Linked DNA regions of Homo sapiens: all the other regions are linked to region 3. Evidence: promoter capture Hi-C in human tissues and cell types (Jung and others, 2019). All regions are on one chromosome and are shown on one strand. The core of a region is centred on a gene start or on the middle of the fragment in contact, and the rest is flanking DNA. Distances in the headings are between cores, read along the strand shown. Region 1 has its middle 73 kb from the start of CTAGE1. Region 2 has its middle 98 kb from the start of CTAGE1. Region 3 holds the start of CTAGE1 (cutaneous T cell lymphoma-associated antigen 1).

Region 1 (4,115 bases), core at 1,376-3,875, 73 kb before region 3:
TTTTAGAGTCTATCAATACAGAATATTCAGTCATTCCATGTAGTTCCATCATTTTTCAAGAGCATAGTATGGTGGGAAGGACACTGGGCTGGGATTCGGAGAAGTGACCCCTAATGGTGGCTCTGCCACCAGCTAGTTATATAACCTTGGGTAAGTCACTCCCCTTTCCAGGCCTTGCATTCATCATATATACAGTTAAGCAGGGGACAGATGAGCTCTAAGCTTCACTTAGCTCTAACTGATTTGATTTTCAGCTGAAGACTTGGTCACATGCAGTGCTTCCCCAACTCCCAGCAGGACCTGGGGACCTGCAGAGGACAGCAGAGCATTCAGAGAGAAGGACATCTGAATTAACTTTTCAGCACGATTCATGAAATGTTAATCAATCTTGTTTGTTTTTATAGTGGAGGGTGTGTGTAAGCATGAGAGTGTGTGTTTGTGTGTGTGTACCTAAGCTTGTGAGTTTATGTGAACATGAACCCAGAGGACTTTTTTTTTTTTTTTTAAAGAACTAAGAGTGTCTTTAGGGGTCATCTAATCCTGTGCTTTCAAACTCTTTATAGACAGCATAATCTTTTCTTCAGTGACATTTTAGCAGACCTCGGACACGTATAAAAGACAAAAGTAGAGCTCTGGCTCCAGGGACACGGAACCCCCGTCTGTCTCTTGGTCCTTCTCTCTTTCCACCTGCCTCCCACCTGGACTTCTAAGGCTCCACAGAACGCAGAGCTTCTGGGCACCTGGATGAACGGTTCACATGGGAGTCAACAGTGGCTCAGAGAGGCCGGGATTTGCTCAGAGGAATACACGCAACTGGTTTGGAAGCTGGGGTTTTGATACCTGTCCTGGGATCTTTGAACCCGTCATGTTATATAATTCTTTCTTCATCACTATCATAGGCTCTCTGAGGATGGCAGGAGTTTAAAAGCTAATAGTCATAGTAGCATCTGTGTTAAGATTCAAGGAGCTATGGGCTTGTCATCCTTTGACTCAGTACACAGGATACTCTTTTTGTGCAGACAAATATGTCCTTCTTCCTAAAGTGCTTTTTAAACAGAGCTACATAAAAAAAGGTTTTTTTAAAAGCTTATTTCACCTCATGTCCATTAGGATGATAATCATAAAAGTCAAGAGATAAAAAATGTCAGCAAGGGTGTGGAGAAAAGGGAAAAATTGTACATTGTTGGTGGAAATGTAGATTGGCGCAAGCATTATGGAAAACAATATGGAGGTTCCTAGACAAATTAAGAAAAACCTAAGCCACATGGTGAGTTCACATCTCTACAAAAAACTAAAAAATTAGCCCAGCATGGTGGCACATGTCTGTAGTCTTAGCTACTTGGGAGGCTGAGGTGGGAGGATGACTTGAGCATGGGAGGTTGAGGCTACAGTAGCCATGATCATGCCACTGCACTCCAGCCTGAGCAATGAAGTGAAACCCTGTCTCAAAAAAATTGATTAAAAATAGAATGACCATTTAACATAGTAATCCCTCTTCTGATTATATACCCAAGGAGATGAAATCACCACCTCATAAAGATATCTGCACACCCATGTTTGTTGCAGCATTATTCACAATAGTCAAGATATGGGAACAACCTAAGTGTCCATCAATGGACAAATGGATAAAGAAACAGATATATGTGTCCTCTGACTCAGTACACAGGACACTCTTTATCTATCTATCTATCTATCTATCTATCTATCTATCTATCTATCATCATCTAGCTATCCATCCAATAGAATGTTATTCAGCCTTAAAAAAGGAAATCCTGCCATTTGCCACAACTTGGATGGAACTGGAGGATATTACACTAGATGAAGTAAGCCAGGCATAGAAAGAAAAACATTTTATGATATCACTTGTATGTAGAATCTAAACCAAAATTAAAGTCAAATATACAAACACAGAGAATAAAACAGTAGTTACCAGGGGTTAGGGAAAAGGGGAACAAATGGGAAGATGTAGGTCAGAGGTTATCAAGTAGCATATATTAGAATGAATAAGCCTAGAGCTCTAATGTACAGGAGGACTGTAATTAATAAAATTTTATGCATTTAGGAGTCCTGTTAAATGAGTAGATTTTAGCTGCTCTTACCAAACAAAGGGGCAGGGCAATGGGGATAACTCTGTGAGATGCTGAATATATTTGTTTTATTATAGTAACCTTTTTACTATCTATATGTATCCCATAACATAATGTTGTATACCTTAAATATACACATCATATTTTAAATTTTATTTTTAAAAGTAAATGCTATTGTGTATCTTTTTTAATGTAAAGATTTATTCCATATAAAAACTTTTAAAAAAATGGTTCAGGAAGAGGCAAAATGAAATGTTTTTACTTGCTCATTGGGGAAAATGTTCACGGAACTTCAGCACCACCAGCAGAGTAAGCTGACAGTAGCATACAGAAGTATGAGGGCTCCTTGGTATGACCTCGGTGCACTGAGATTTTCTGGGAAAATCTGTATCAGTAATCATAGTTGTATAGCTCCAGGGTCCAACTCTAGATTGCAAAATATTTCCCCTTTTGGACTTCAACTCAACAATAATTCAACAGTGTGACAACTCAGTAGGAAACGGACCTTGAACAAGAGTGATAGGTATCTTTAGCTTGGCCTGGGCTGCCCAGGAAGCTTAGTGGCAGATAAAGTAATCACACCCTATGGCCTTCCGCTCTCACAAAAGAATCACTTGCATTGTGCAAGCCAAGCATATTTCACACAAAACCTTGTTTCCACTTTTCCTCTAAAGTGGTCTTTGGCAGTTTTTTCAGTTCCTAACATTCTGTTTTGGTCACAAACAAACCTCTGCTGTGCACTTTATGGGTGTGCTGAACCACTGAGTATTAGAGCTGAAATCGGCCTCAGAGATCATCAAATCCAATCCTGTCATTTCATAGCAAAGGAGTCAGAGGTAGAGGGAGAGGAGATGACTTGTCCAAAGTCACACAGTGAGAGAAAAGCAGAACCAGGTCAGGAGCTGAGCTGCTGTCCTGATGTGAAGCACTTTTTCATGACTCTATGCCACTTCTGAATTAGCCACAACACCATGAGGGGAGATGTCTTCCATATGGCTCAGGGGTGTGGTATTTGCCGTCAGACAATAGTTATTTATTGAGCACCCACAACATGCTAGGGAAACCCTTCAATAGGCTTACAGTCTGGAGGGGAAGACATACATTAAACAAAGAATCTTAAATGAGTAAGTGCATTAGTGTTGCCAACCATTCAGTGAAGAATGCATTAGTGTTGCCATGGGAATGTTATCTCCAGGGCTGATTGGGGCTATGTCCAGGGCCAAATCTGATTGGTTGATCCTGTGAGTTAGTAGTTAAATATTAATATGTTGGCTCACCCTAGGTTATGGGCCAAAGATTGTTTACATAATGCACGGGTTACTTCACCCATCTGATTCTGCTCCTCTTGGTTTCTTCTTCCTGATGATTCTACCTCCAGGAAGACAGGTAATGCAAAAGAACTAGAGTTCCTACAAACAGTCTTGTTCTCGCTCAGAACTGCTTTGACAGCTGGAGTAGTGAAGTCAACATTTGAATTATCTGTGAGTCCCATGTATTTGTGCTCTCCTCAGGATGGAGCAGGCTGGATTTTTTAACCTGATATCCCATTTACACAGGTCTTACACTCCTTACATTGATATCAAAACTAAAACAGTGACTTCAAAATTGAACACAAACCTGAATTTTGAATATTAATCACTCCTCGTCTCCAACACTCTCTTCCATCCCTACTAACATTTTTGCAAGCCATTCCTAATTCAACTGCTCTTCCAAATGCAGTCAGCACCGAGGAAGAAGTCCTCTCATGAATCTTTTTGGAAAAGGAGCTCTCATGCCCAAATTCCTTATAATTCCAGGAGCATGTCAAGAAGAAATTGTTAAAGAAAATTTCTACACAGTGGACTTCCCATTGGAGAATGAATCACAGGACATTTTTCTAAATCAAGAATGTTTGAATTTGGGGTGTGGGTCACACCTGGAGAAGCCCTCCTCTTCGTCTCTTCCTGGTTTACTTTCTATCCTGGGAATTTCCCCTTCCTCTTTCTTTTCCATCTAGTTTGTGAGGTTTCCCTGAACCCCTTCCTTATT
Region 2 (4,393 bases), core at 1,826-4,325, 97 kb before region 3:
GCATATGATACATACAATACTGTGTAAAGAGGCCTTACATATGCTTGCTGGCTCTTCTTATCTCTAGTGAGAATTCTGTTTTGCAATAAGAGAAACTCAAGTGCAAGAGACAAACATGTTCAAGGTCATATAGTACTGAATACATGATGCAAGTTGCTGGGAAGGCATTCCAGTGATGGTGACATTTCCAGTTATTTCTGTGTTATGCGTAACTCTTTTCTCCAGGCCTCAGTAGCTCGGGAGGTAAATGGAGACACATTACATAGGATTGCCAGATAAAATACAGAACATCCAGTTATATTTGAATTTCAGAGAAACAACAAGTACTTTTTTAGTATAAGTATACTCATAGTAAAGTAAGTAGGACATGCTTATATTACAAAATTACTTGTTGTTTCTCTGCAATTCAAATTTAACTAGATGTTCTCTATTTTTACTTGCTAAATTTGACAACTCTACATTAACAACTGTATTTCCCTGATTCTGTTTTCATCTGTTATTAAAGAATCTCTAATCTCTCTTAAGAATCTTTCCTGTCCATGGGAAGACTGAGATATCTTCCCACTGACTTTACTGATACTTTAAATTACAGTTTATAATAATAAAAATAAAGAATTTTTTTCTTTTGAAAAATCTCAACCTGTAAAGAAGTTTTAAACATCTGACACACTTCATAAGGCTTTTGAGGTAATCAAATGAAACAATATATTTATTTTTTAGGTGGCTAGATAGATGTTCATGCATAAAATTTCAAATAATCCCCAAAGTTTTGAATTCTCAATTCTTAGGATAATACTCTACTTTGGCCTCTTTCATGAAAATTTACTAAGGTTTTACTAGAATCATTATCAGGATTTTTTCCAAGGGTGCACACAAACATCACTTATTAGCAGCTTCAATTTCTTCTCTCCTGCTTTGGCTTTTGCTTCTTGAGACCATGTCTTCTGGTGAATCTTCTGATACCCGGGAGGATCCATGAATGTACCCTCATGATGCATTATTTTCCTTTGAAGCTGCTCCAGTTGCATTGCTCCAGTGCCAAACCGGGGACTCAGGGCTGGTGGCTTTTGATTATCAAGGGCTTTCTTCAATATGTGACATAGTAAGTGACAGCAAGAGCTTTGGTGTCAGAGAGATGAGAAATCTGGACCTGGTTTCATCACCTTCTAGCTGTGTAACCTTAGGCAGCTTTCTTCATCTCAATAGGCATCAGTTTCTCATGGTAAAACAAGATACCACCTACAGCTATATCTACTTTAAATTATTATTCAGGAATTATTATTACTATTTATAATTATTATTTGAGGATTAAATCAGATAATGCATAAAGATACTTAGTACAGCATCTAGCATCATGTAACTTTAAGTATTAAAGATAAATTATCTTGAAGAAGTAATTTAAAAGCACATAGATGTAAGATTAGTTTAATAAATAACAGTACGTTCACACAAAGGAGTTTTTTAAATGGAGTTTAAAAATTTAAAATGATCTCTGTAAACTTATATGGAATTATTTCTAAGATATATTGGTAAATTGGGGGAAAAAGCAAGTACCAAAAAGAGTATATATTTTATAGTGCCTTTTGCATGATAAATGAAGGGAAATAAGAGGCAGAACTTCTGCAATGGTGGAGTAAGGACCCCTGAAAACCCTCTTCCCCTAAGAGGAAACAAGAAAAATTATCCAGGGCACAGCCAAGATGGCCGACTAGAAGCAGCTAGGGTGCATGGTTCTCACAGAGAGGAATGAAAGGGGCGAGTAAATGCAGCACCTTCAACTGAAACATCCAGGTACTTGCATTGGAACTAATAAAGGAAACAACTTAAAGAGAACGGAGAAAAGCAAGGCAGGATGATGGCCCACCTGGGAGTGACACGGAGGCAAGGGAACCTCCCCTGCCCAGGGAAGTGGCGAGTGAATGTGCCACCCTGGGAAACCATGCTCCTCCCACGGATCTTTGCAACCCTCAGGTCAGGAGATCCCCTCAGAAGCCACTCCACCAGGGCCTTCAGTCCGGCACAGAGAGCTATGTGGAGTCTCACAGAGCAGCCACTGAGGCATATGTGGAGACCTGGAGCTTTCGATACTCCGGCTCCCGGCTTCCCAGCAAAAGTAACTGCAACTCTAGCAAAGCGGGAGAATAGACCCCCGTACATAACCCTAAGAAAGAGGCTGAATCCAGGGAGTGGAGCAGTCACTTCCATTGCACCTCACAGGATAAGACCCACTGGCTTGGAATTTCAGCCACCAGCAGCAGTGCTGCGCCTCCCTGGGACAGAGGTCCCTGGGGGTGGGGCGGGGGGGAGCACCATCTTTACTGTTTGGGCGACTCAGCCATTCCACCCTACGAACTTTGGAGAGTCCAAACTGATGGAGGGAGGAAGAGATCCCCCAGCACAGCACAGCTGCTCTACCCAAACTTGACCCCACTGCATTTTTAAGCGGGTCCTGGATCTGTTCCTCCTCACTGGGCTTGACCTCCCAACTGGGGCCTCCAGCCACCTCCACTAGTCTTCTCCAGCTGACAGACATTTGAATTCTCCCTGAGACAGAACTCCCAGAGGGACAGGTGGGCTGCCATCTTTGCTGTTTGGGTGACTTAGCCGTTCCAGCCTAAAGGCTTTGGAAAACCCAAGTCGACCAGGGCAGAAGCAGTACCCCAGCACAACACAGCTGCTCTACAGAAGCTTCTTTAATTGGATCCCTGATCCCTTTTCTCCTCACTGGGTGGAACCTCCCAACCAGGGCCTCCAGCCACCCCTGCTGGTGTTCTCTGGCTAACAGAAATTTGAATTCTCCCTGGGACAGAGCTCCCAGCGGGAGGGGCAGGCTGCCAACTTTGCTGTTTGGGCAACTCAGCCATTCCACCCTGCAGGCTTTGGAGTGTCCAAACTGATGGAAGGAGGAAGGGATCCCCCAGCACAGCACAGATGCTCAACGAAAGCATGGCCAGACTGCTTCTTTAAGTGGGACCCTGATCCCGTTCCTCCTGACTGATTGGGCAAGACCTCCCAACCAGGGTCTCCAGCCACCATGTACAGGTGTGTTCGGACCAGCAACAGGTCCGTACCTCCCTGGGTTGGAGCTCCCAAAGGAAGGGGCAGGCTGCCATCTTTGCTGTTTCACAGCCTTCACTGGTGATGCCTCCAGGTACTGGAAAATCCGAGGTGACTAGGGACTAGAGTGGACCCCCAGCAAACCACAACAGCCCTATGGAAAGGTGGCCAGACTGTTAAAAGAAAAAAACGCTCCATCCAAGGGTCAGCAACCTCAAAGATTGAAGGTAAATAAGCCCGCACAAATTTGAAAAAGAAGCAGTGCAAGAATGCTGAAAACACAAAAAGTCAGCATGCCCTCTTTTCTCTAGAGGACAGCATCACCTCTCCAGCAAGGGTTCAGAAGCAGGATGAGGCTGAGATGGCTGAAATGACAGAAGTAGAATTCAGAATATGGATATGATGAAATTGCCAAGAGTAATTGCAACAACAGCAAAAGTTGACAAATGGGATCTAATTAAACTAAAGAGCTTCTGCACAGCAAAAGAAACTATCATCAGAGTGAACAGGCAACCTACAGAGTGGGAGAAAATTTTTTCAACCTATCCATCTGACAAAGGCCTAATATGCAGAATCTACAAGGAACTTAAACAAATTTACAAGAAAGAAAAATCAATCTCATTAAAAAGTGGGCAATCTCATTACTGGGTATATAGTCAAAAGAAAATAAATTGTTCTACCAAAGACACATGCACTCGTGTGTTCATTACAGCATTATTCACAATAGTGAAGACATGAAATAAACCCAGGTGCCCATCAGTGATGGATTGGATAAAGAAAATATGGTGCAATCAAAAAACTCATCCACCACAATGAAGTAGGCTTCATCTCTGGGATGCAAGGTTGATTCAACATATGCATATCAATAAATGTGATTCATCACATAAACGGAACTAAAAACAAAAACCACATGATTATCTTAATAGATGAAGAAAAGATTTTTTATAAAATTCAACATTCATTTATGTTTAAAACTCCCAATAAGCTGGATATTGAAAAAATATACCTCAAAATAATAAGAGCCATCTATGACAAACCCACAGCCGACACCATACTAAATGGGCAAAAGCCGGAAGCATTCCCCTTGAAAACAGGCAAAAGACAAGGATGCCCTCTCTCACCACTCCTATTCAACATAGTACTGGAAGAGGAGGTCAAGCTATCCCTGTTTGCAGATGACATGATCTTATATCTAGAAAACCTCATTGTCTCAGCCCCAAAACTTCTGAAGCTGATAAACAACTTCAGCAAAGTCTCAGGATACAAAATCAATATGCAAAAATCACTAGCATTCCTATACACCGACAACCATCAAGCCAAGAGCCAAATCAGGAAT
Region 3 (3,791 bases), core at 849-3,348:
TCTACTTCATCTTTCCAGAAGTAGAATGCATACCCTATTGTTCTAATTTGCTTTTTTTTAATTAGTGAAGTTGAGTATCATTTTATCTGTTCACTGGACATTTTATTTCCCTCCTCTAGAATTGCCTGTCTCTTCGTACATACTTTTGTCTACTGTTTCTACTCAATTAACTATATTTTTATTAATGATTTGTAGTTCTTTTGTTTTTTCTTTTGAGACAAAGTCTTGCTCTGTTGCCCAGGCTGGAGTGCAGTGGTGCAATCTCAGCTGACTGCAACCTCCACCTCCCAGGTTCAAGAGATTCTCCTACCTCAACCTCTTGGGTAGCTGGGATTACAAGCGTCCACCACCACACCTGGCTCATTTTTGTAATTTTAGTAGAGTCGGGGATTCACCATGTTGGTCAGGCTGGCCTTGAACTCCTGACTTCAAGTGATCCTCTTGCCTTGGCCTCCCAAGGTGCTGGGATTATAGACATGAGCCACCGCACCCAGCCTAGTTCTTTATATATTCTGAATATTATTCCTTTGTCAATTTATATGTTGCATATATTTTCCAAATCTGTTACTTATTTTGCTTATAACGGTTTTGTCACCCAGAGGCCTTTAAATTCTAATGCAGTCAGCTTGTTGTCTTTTAATAATGAAAATATAAGAACTATACAAATATGCGGGCGGAAGATGGCAAAGGGAGCTGGTGCTTGTGCAAGTTGTTGAGGTGTGCTCTGTGGAATGATGGCTGTCACAGACACTGTCAAGCAGGAGGTTGCCCTGGCTGTGCACATGCTGCAAAGCATGCATGTGAACGTGATTCTGATCACGGGGGACAACTGGAAGACAGTCAGAGCCTTTGCCACCCAGGTTGGCATCAACAAAGTCTTTGCAGAGGTGTTGCCTTCACACAAGGTGACCAAGGTTCAGGAGCTCCTGAATGAAGGGAAGAAAGTCGCCATGGTGGGGGACGGGGTCAATGATTCCCTGGCCTTGGCCCAGGCAGACTTGGGCATTGCCACTGGCACTGGCACGGATGTGGTCATCGAGGCAGCCAACGTCATCCTCATCAAAAATGATTTGCTGGATGTGGTGGCTAGCATTCATATTTCCAAGATGACTGTCCAGAGGATATGCATCAAACTGGTCCTGGCGCTGATTTATAACCTAGTGGGCATACCCATTGCTGCAGGAGCAAGCTTTCCAGATGAGTTGAAGATATGTGCATGGGCGGGAGATGATGACTTATTGCAGGGCAAGGCGTCATCCGTGTTGAAGGAGTGCCAGTGTTTCAGAAATGGACACAGAGCAGGTAAGTTTGATGGACAGGTAAGAGAATCACTCTCTATGTGCCAGCACTGTTCTAAGAGTCCTGGATCTTCTGGGGATGAGATTAGCGTTTTTCAGTTGTACATGGGACAGCTGAGGCTCATGCTAGGGAGTGGTGAGCCCTTTCCTGGAAGAAGTTAATCTAAAAAGCATAATCTGTCTCATTTGGGAGGAGCTAAATAAATATCTCTTCAATGAAGCAAAGGTCAATCAGAAAATTTGTATTTTAGCTATAAAATTACCTATCAGAATTTACCATAGGGCATAATCTTAGTCAAGCACCCAAATTCATTATTTCAGCCACAGATACTGAAACACCAAAGGGATAAGGGGGCAGGTATTTCAGTTAGCTACTGCTGCATAACAAATGACCCCAAAGCTTAGTGACTTAAAACAATGATTTGTTATTCCTTATCATTCTGTCAGCTGGGAGGTTCTTCTGCCCGCCCCACCTGGGGTCATGCACAAGGCTACATTTAGCTAGGGTGTCAGCTTGGGATGGGCATAGCTGGGATGCTGGGTCACCTGAGTCTTTCTCACCATGTGGTACTGTTTTAAAATATAGGTTTTAGCGCTTCCTCAGGATGTAAAGTGTAACAAAGGTACCGGGGTGGGCAGTGTGGGTCTGTGAGGCCTACGGGTGCCCGCGTCCCCTAACTCCCCCCGCAGCCGGCTCCGCAGTGGTACGCTCCGGTTGCCCGTTAGGGATTCAGGTTCCAAACGGAATGCTGCGTCTTCTCCAGCGTTTGTTGTGGCCGAGGTTACTGCAGCAACCGCCAGAGCAGCCTTGGCGCTACGGAGGAGCCTAGGGCTAACCCTCAGCCATACCTGGGGCTGGTCCTGGAGTTGCTACGCAGGGTTGTGGCAGCACTGACTGAAGGTATGAGACCCGATTCTCATCCTTATGGTTTTCCATGGGAATTGGTGATACGTGCAGCTGTTGCTGGATTTTTTGCTGTTCTCTTCTTGTGGAGAAGTTTTAGATCAGTTACGAGTCGGCTTTATGTGAGAAGAGAGAAAAAGTTTGCTGTGGCACTTTCTGGACTAATTGAAGAAAAATGTAAACTACTTGAAAAATTTAGCCTTGTTCAAAAAGAGTATGAAGGCTATGAAGTAGAGTCATCTTTAAAGAATGCCAGCTTTGAGAAGGAGGCAACAGAAGCACAAAGTTTGGAGGCAACCTGCGAAAAGCTGAACAGGTTCAATTCTGAACTTGTGCATGAAATACTCTGTCTAGAAAAAGAGTTAAAAGAAGAGAAATCTAAACATTCTGAACAAAATGAATTGATGGCGGATATTTCCAAAAGGATACAGTCGCTAGAAGATGAGTCAAAATCCCTCAAATCACAAGTAGCTGAAGCCAAAATGACCTTCAAGAGATTTCAAGCGAATGAAGAACGGTTGGAGATAGAAATACAAGATGCTTGGAAAGAAAATTCTGAACTTCAGGAAAGCCAGAAACAGCTTTTGCAAGAAGCTGAAGTATGGAAAGAACAAGTGAGTGAACTTATTAAACAGAAAAGAACATTTGAAGACTCCAAAGTACATGCAGAACAAGTTCTAAATGATAAAGAAAATCACATCAAGACTCTGACTGAACGCTTGCTAAAGATGAAAGATGGGGTTGCTATGCTTGAAGAAGATGTAACGGATGATGATAACTTGGAATTAGAAATGAACAGTGAATCGGAAGATGGTGCTTACTTAGATAATCCTCCAAAAGGAGCTTTGAAGAAACTGATTCATGCTGCTAAGTTAAATGCTTCCTTAAAAACCTTAGAAGGAGAAAGAAACCAAATTTATATTCAATTATCTGAAGTTGATAAAACAAAGGAAGAGCTTACAGAGCATATTAAAAATCTTCAGACTGAACAAGCATCTTTGCAGTCAGAAAACACACATTTTGAAAGTGAGAATCAGAAGCTTCAGCAGAAACTTAAAGTAATGACTGAATTATATCAAGAAAATGAAATGAAACTCTACAGGAAATTAATAGTAGAGGAAAAATGCCGGTTAGAGAAAGAAGAGAAACTTTCTAAAGTAGACGAAATGATCAGCCATGCCACTGAAGAGCTGGAGACCTACCGAAAGCGAGCCAAAGATCTTAAAGAATTTGAGAAAACTATTCATTTTTATCAAAAGAAGATTATTCTCCATGAGAAAAAAGCACATGATAATTGGTCGGCAGCTTGGACTGCTGAAAGAAACCTCAATGATTTAAGGAAAGAAAATGCTCACAACAGACAAAAATTAACTGAAATAGAGTTTAAAATAAAACTTTTAGAAAAAGATCCTTATGGACTTGATGTTCCAAATACAGCATTTGGCAGACAGCATTCCCCATATGGTCCCTCACCATTGGGTTGGCCTTCATCTGAAACGAGAGCTTCTCTCTATCCTCCAACTTTGTTGGAAGGTCCTCTCAGACTCTCACCTTTGCTTCCACGGGGAGGAGGAAGAGGCTCCAGAGGC

Evidence for each region. Contacts are between HindIII fragments. The study calls those that stand out against the background at their distance.
Region 1: a contact is called between a fragment that was not itself captured here and the fragment with the promoter of CTAGE1 in region 3, in 2 of the 25 tissues and cell types used here (dorsolateral prefrontal cortex and mesenchymal stem cells).
Region 2: a contact is called between a fragment that was not itself captured here and the fragment with the promoter of CTAGE1 in region 3, in 4 of the 25 tissues and cell types used here (IMR-90 fibroblasts, bladder, dorsolateral prefrontal cortex and 1 more).

The regions. Positions count from the first base shown.
Region 1 is chr18:22,489,102-22,493,216 of GRCh38, reverse strand. No RefSeq gene overlaps it. Among named protein-coding and RNA genes, the nearest start is that of CTAGE1, 73 kb to the right of the region's middle. The HindIII fragment of the contact is 3,708 bases long and covers 772-4,115 here.
Region 2 is chr18:22,513,296-22,517,688 of GRCh38, reverse strand. No RefSeq gene overlaps it. Among named protein-coding and RNA genes, the nearest start is that of CTAGE1, 98 kb to the right of the region's middle. The HindIII fragment of the contact is 5,805 bases long and covers 173-4,393 here.
Region 3 is chr18:22,416,222-22,420,012 of GRCh38, reverse strand. It overlaps CTAGE1 (cutaneous T cell lymphoma-associated antigen 1), which reads left to right and starts at 2,098. Exons shown (of 1, transcript NM_172241.3): 1 at 2,098-3,791. The coding sequence starts at 2,202. It also overlaps the pseudogene ATP7BP1. The HindIII fragment of the contact is 3,989 bases long and covers 1,445-3,791 here.